Regions from separate parts of the Homo sapiens genome. Here region 1 is linked to region 2. The links are contacts of gene promoters, found by promoter capture Hi-C in human tissues and cell types (Jung and others, 2019). All regions are on one chromosome and are shown on one strand. The core of a region is centred on a gene start or on the middle of the fragment in contact, and the rest is flanking DNA. Distances in the headings are between cores, read along the strand shown.

Evidence for each region. The method cuts DNA at HindIII sites, captures the fragments that hold promoters and counts their contacts. A contact is called where the count stands out against the background at its distance.
Region 1: a contact is called between a fragment that was not itself captured here and the fragment with the promoter of SLC25A43 in region 2, in 1 of the 25 tissues and cell types used here (pancreas).

Annotation. Positions count from the first base shown.
Region 1 is chrX:119,354,185-119,357,540 of GRCh38, forward strand. No RefSeq gene overlaps it. Among named protein-coding and RNA genes, the nearest start is that of SLC25A43, 43 kb to the right of the region's middle. The HindIII fragment of the contact is 4,365 bases long and covers 1-3,356 here.
Region 2 is chrX:119,397,713-119,400,938 of GRCh38, forward strand. SLC25A43 (solute carrier family 25 member 43) reads left to right here and starts at 1,624. Exons shown (of 5, transcript NM_145305.3): 1 at 1,624-1,966. The coding sequence starts at 1,692. RefSeq lists a silencer at 1,488-2,147. The HindIII fragment of the contact is 7,658 bases long and covers 1-3,226 here.

The sequences.
Region 1 (3,356 bases), core at 287-2,786, 44 kb before region 2:
AAAATGTTTTTCTCCTTATGTTACTGACAAAAAAAAAAGCCACTGCCTAATTGAGACTTCTGTGTATTCAATTAATGCTTCTGTGCATTTGGCCTGACAACGTCCAGGGGCTAATGGGACCATGTGCTATCTTTAACAAAGATGAGAGTACAAACATGAGTAAGACAGCCTATTATGGGCTTTCTGGGGCCTTTTAAAAATATTACATTTTCAGCATGTGAATTACACCAAATGGTGGCAACACAGGTTTCTGGGGTTTAATGCATTTCAGTTCATTCCATTTATAAAGCAAAATTGAAATAAAGTAATTCTATTCCAAAATATGTTTTAATCGTGAGTTTTTGAAAGCTCTTTAGGTAAGATGTTTTTGCCTTGCATGATTTAGAAAATTAACTGGGTTTCCACAGTATTTGAATACTGCAAGTTGAACTTACTTTCAATCTAAAAGCAGGCAGAAGAGAATTTTGATGTAAACTGAATTATTCGAGTAATTTTCTTAATGATTAAGAAGTCAACTCAAAAAAACAAATGCTAGCCACTGCCTATAGAATAAAGAGTTATCAATCCTTGTTTTTCCAAAGTAGTCCATATGTTTTAGAGGTAAATTTTGAAGTAAATTTGAAGTAAATGTCCAAAGTAAGAAAAATAAAATCGAACATTCAGACTTCAATTACTGCAAAAAAGATTTACAAAAATCTTTCAGATCACAAGAAATTGTTAAAACAACAGAACCCAAAAACAGAGGAGAAAGGAAAAAGTATGGGTTGTGAGGTTAATTCCAGCAGGTCTAGAATTAGCCCTAGTTGTTTTATTGAAGTTCTGGCATGACACTGACCTCCTATCAAGACACAAAACATACTGGTTAATGGTGTTGTTTTGTAGCCATGAGTCTTCAGATTCATGGTGGTTTGTCCGAGCTTGTCGACATTATGTATTGGTAACAGTGAGACTGATTATTTGTACCTGGTCTCAGTGTGACACCTGTCCCTCCCTCAAAGGGCTCTACTGTTAAGGCTAAAATATGCCTGTGTGACTGTCAAAAAATTGTTTAAAACCCATCTGAGAGTCCATTTTGGACTCCCTGGTTCTGAGGTGTTCTGTGCACATGTCAGTGGTTCCTGGTCCAAGTGATAAAGTGCATCCTGCTGTCACGGCTCTTAGAGAGGAGGACAATAGGATCCTGTACCTGACCACTCCAGACCCCTGGCTGTATCCTTTTCCTGTAGTAAACTATATACTTGAGAGTAATGCCATTTGAGTCCTCTAAGTCTCCTTTAGCAATGGAACCCTGTTCACTTGCCATAGTTAATGCAGCATGAAAAAGTCATCCAGGAGAGTGGAAGAGATTATTAGTGGGCATACACATTGTTCAAAAATAGTGCTGAAAAAAATGGTGCTGGGACAAATAGTGTAGTAGATGTGTCTGCCCAGGTAACAGTGATTCTTCCCAGAGAACTTCTATCTTCTATCTTCTCCTTTCCAATTCATAAGGTTTCAGGAGTGGGTCCACAACAGCCATGTACACATTAAGTGACCCATGTTCCCTAGCCAAAGCTAGTTGGATCAGAGGTGAACCCCTGACCCAAGCTAGACTGATCAGAGTCTCTTCCAGTCTGAAGGGTTGGCATCTTTAAGTGAGGAAACCTAAAAGCTCACGTGTTGAGCTTTGGTATACACAGCTTCCACCAACAGGACCAAGTAGCCGAGAAAGCCCAGCCACAGAGATGAATGAAGCCAAGGCTCAGAGGGCAGCAGAGCTGAGGAATGGCAACAAGCTACTCTTTGCATTCCTGACACCATTTCCTTCTCTGATTCCAGCCGTTTGGGAGATTAAGCTCCATCCAAGATCTGGGTTCCAGAGAAATACTCCATATTCTTATAATAAATTCCTTTTTTTTCCCCCATCAAGCTAGCTTGAGTTAGCACCTTTACTAGCACCTAAATATCCTTAACTCACTAGCCATGTAGAAACATATAGAGCTAGATCCCTACCTCACTGCCTGCCCAAAAATACATTCCAGATGGAATTAAGATTTCAATTTCAAAATAAAACAATATAGGGAGTAAAATCAAATGTAGGAGAATTTATTTATTTATTTATTTATTTATTTATTTATTTGAGACCGGGTTATGTGTTGCCTAGGCTGATCTCGAACTCCTGGCCTCAAGCGAGCCACTCACCTCAGCCTCCCAAAGTGTTGGGGTTACAGTTGTGAGCCACTGTGCCCCAGCCAGGAGAATATTTTTATAATCTTGGAATCTACAATCAAAAATAAAAAAGATTTAATCATTTGCCTGTATGACATTTGAATACTTATAAACAGCCAAAACACAGCATAAACAAAGCCAAGAAGCATAAAAATAGGGAAAGTATTTGTAACAAATATACAAAGCAAATGACTAGTATTGGTAATACACAAAGGACTGTTATAAATTAATAAGATTGGCCAGGCACAGTGGCTCACGCCTGTAATCCCAGCACTTTGGGAGGCTGAGGCGGGTGGATCACCTGAGGTCAGGAGTTCGAGACCAGCCTAGCCAACATGGTGAAACCCCATCTCTACCAAAAATACAAAAATTAGCCAGGCGTGGTGGGCAGGTGCCTGTAATCCCAGCTACTCGCGAGGCTGAGGCAGGAGAATTGCTTGAAGCCGGGAGGTGAAGGTTGCAGTGAGCCGAGATTGCACCATCGCACTCCAGTCTGAGGGACAAGAATGAGACTTCGTCTCAAAAAAAAATAAATAAATAAAATTAATAAGATTAAAAAGGCAGGCAAATCGACAAAGGATGAAAATTGAGAAATCATAGAAGGCAAGTTACAAATTACCAGCAAACATATTATATGAAAAGATGTTCAACCTGACACTTATTTAAGAAATAGAAATGAAAACTACAGATTGGCAGATATTAAAAAGATTAATAGCCCTAGTGATGACAAGGTTTTAGAAAAACATATACTGTCTTTTAACTATTGTTAAAAACTTTTTGGAGTGTGATTTGGCAATATCAATTAAAATTTTAAATACACAATAACTTTTGACATCAGTAATTCCACTGCTGGGAATTTATCCTACAGAAAATCACATAATGTGCATGACACTATATAATAAGGTTGTTTATTATAAAATGGTTTATAATAAATTTGGACATACACAAATGTCTATCACAAGGCATTGCATTTTTTAAAAATCTAGCATAACCACAGAGGGTAATAAACTGCAGCAGTTTAAAAATATTGAGGCAGCATTGTGTGTACTGACATGGAAAGCTACTTGGGAAATATTTTAAGAAAAAAGCAAGTTGCAGATCACAGGAATAGCATGATCTTATTTTTGAAGACGTGAGGGAGACCATGA
Region 2 (3,226 bases), core at 374-2,873:
CCCAATCTCCATACAATGGGGTTATCACATGAAATGTTCCAGACCCACGAACTTCCTGAAAGAGCTTTAGAATCTTGTCCCGTTATCCAACAAAGGGCTTTAGGAAGTACCAGTACCCGAAGGTTTCCTTATTGTAATCCCCAAATTCCAATTCAAGCCCTTTTAAAGTCGGGGTCCTCCGGTCTTCAGAGTCATACATCTTTCTCAAGCTTCCCCCAGCCATCAAATTAGCTTACAACAAGACAGAAGAATTCACAAAACATGAAAATAAGCATTCCCCAATTGTTGAGAGCAGAGTATGGCTTCTGCAACTAGAACAAGTTCTCACAGTCAAAACCTTGTAATGTCATACTCAAGTGAGATTGACAGTGAAAAATAAAAAAGGAGAAACCCTGCAATGCCTTTTAGAAAACGTTCCTATAGCATTGTGTGTTAGTAAATGTAAATAACTATACAAGCCTAAAAACAACTATGTACCCGGAACATCTTGCTCACACCAACAGACTGCTGACAGTTCCTTTCCTTGTAATTATTAGTGACATGGCTTTTTTAGAAAAAAAAGAGACAGAAAGAAATTCTGAAATTCTGAAATTTTTGAACTGATTAAAGAATCCTCGGATTCTGGCCAAGCCTCTCTTAGCCATTCTTTGCCTCTATTGTTCTCTTAGCTTACAGAACCACTGAAAATGTCCCTACTGGAGTTAACTCTGCAGTCCTAGTAGACATATAGTGTAGCCGTTAGTGGAAACTGACATAAACCGCCCTAGATTTCAAACCGGTCTCTGCTTTGTAGGTAGCTGTGTGAGCCTGAGCAAGTCCTCTCTGTGTCTTGGTTTCCTCTCCTGTAAATGAATACCTAATCAGAACTAACACATATAAACTGCTTACCCATACCAGTCATTGTTCATTAATCCTTACAACAACCCCTAGGAGGAAAAAATTATAATCTCTGTTTTATAAAGCAACTGACACACAGAGAGGTTGAGTGACTTCCCCAAGGTCCCACAGCTGGTAAGCTGCAGAGCCAAGAATCTTACACAGGTTCAAGAGTCCAGATTCAAGTCCCCACACCCACACAGCCTCTGTCAATGAGGACATACGTACTTAGGGCCGTTTTGAGGATTACATGAGAACGTCTGTAAAGCCCAGTACTTGACAAGTGCCTGAGAGATAGCAACTGTGGTTGTTAGAATTTTTTACCTTCTGCACTGGGAAACCATCAAGGCTTTTTGGTTAGGCAGGAAAAAAAAATGGGTTGGAGGCAAGAGGAGGAGGAGGGAAGCGCCAGGGGAGGAAGACAGAGAAGTGGCACGTGAAAGGGAGAAAAGGGGCAAACCAGAGGAGAGGCAGGGAGGGGCGGCGGGGGCGCACTGAACATTTAGGAAGCAAGATGTCTAGCAGGCTGGGCCTTGAGAGAACAGTAACTGTTTCGCAACTGAAAGTCGCTACTCGAGCCTTGCCAACTGGGGAGACTATGCCCATGATATCCGCGGCCTCGGACCCCGGACCCTCCAGGCCCTCGCGCCCCACCCCCGACCAGCCTCGGGCCAGGCTAGGGCGTAGACGGGGCTTCCCGTCCCTCACGCGGGCCCGCCCCATGCCGGGCGGGGCCTGGGGCCCGCCACCTCCGCCCGTGGCCGGAGAGCCCCAGGCCCGAGCCACGCGGTCTTCCGGGCCCGGGTCGGGGCTCGATGGCTACGTGGAGGCGGGACGGCCGACTGACAGGCGGCCAAAGGCTGCTGTGCGCTGGGCTGGCGGGGACGCTCAGCCTCAGCCTCACCGCGCCCCTGGAGCTCGCCACCGTGCTGGCCCAGGTTGGCGTCGTGCGAGGCCACGCCCGGGGACCGTGGGCCACAGGGCACCGGGTGTGGCGGGCAGAGGGGCTCCGGGCCCTGTGGAAGGGGAACGCGGTGGCGTGCCTGCGCCTCTTCCCCTGCAGCGCCGTGCAGCTCGCCGCCTACCGCAAGTAAGAGCCGGGCGGGGCCGGGGAACCGGGAGACCGGACGGGGGTGGGGTGGGGGAGCCGCGGCCCGACGCCGCCCTGCTGCCTGGACTCGGGGCCCTGGAGTAGGGACGGCCCCCTTGTCGATCACCTGGGGACCCCTCGGGGCGGTGGGCCACCTCTATGGCCCCCAGAGTGCAGCCCCAATGCTTTTCACGTTCTCTTGGGGTTACCGCCCTGCAAGATGCAGTTTTGTGGTCCGCAGCCCTGGTCCGAGAGGCTTTCCGGATTGGACCGGGCGAGGAGGTGGAATGCAGCAAAGGATTTGGAGGAAAGGAATGAAAAGCTCTCCAGAGAGATGAGTCCTAACCATTTCCACCGTCCTCCAATTTGGAAACTTTTGCTTAGGCTGGCTTAGGAAGAGAGAGACCCTTTTAAAGGTGTTTTTGTCTGTGTGACCCAAGCCCCGAGAAGAAAGTGCTTGGTGTGGGGAAAGGACCCGATCCATCGATACGAAAAGGCCGCAGATTTTTGCCCACACATCTCCCCAACTTAAATGAAGCTTGACTTCAGGCTCCGACAGAGGCTGCAGCTTCCCCTCCCCAAGCTGAGAACGGCCCCCTCAGCCTACCGCTTCACCCCACTGGCCTCATTTATTTGGGCCTTTTCCACCTTCTCCCACATCAACAGCTGCTCCTTAGGAAAAGATCTAAAGGTGTAAATGCAGCCTTAAAGCTTCCACCGAGCTCAGAGGTACCTGCATTTGAACTGGAAACCAAGCCTGAAAGAATGAATTGGTAGTGATGGCATTTCAGGAAGCAGAGATGTTTCTGTATTGGGGGGACGGTCCCTGTGTTCCTCATTCAGTGGGCACAGTGGCATCTTTGATATCGCCTTGGCTCTGAATTAGACAAACAGCCCACATTTGGGAGAGTCGGTCTTGACCGCATAGTTTAGTCTTGGCGGCTAATAGTCAAAGGATTTTGCCTTGACACTGTCACTCACCTGGGAGGCCAGAGGTGGAAGGCTCACCTGGCAGCCGACAAGCCGAACGGAATCATCCTTATTACCTAGGCCTCTAGGCCAGTACTCATTTTGCCTCTGCCTGGAAATAGAGTTCCCTTCTCTTCCTCTGCAGAGGGACTCATGGGTGGGACCATGACATTTAGTTAAGGCCCTTTTTCCTCCCCACCTCTGCTTGCCCTCATCAACATCTGGCCTGCAGTCTGTAAACAGTTCTCCTCTGAGTCTTAATGACTCAGTTTCTCCCCCACTTCACCCTCT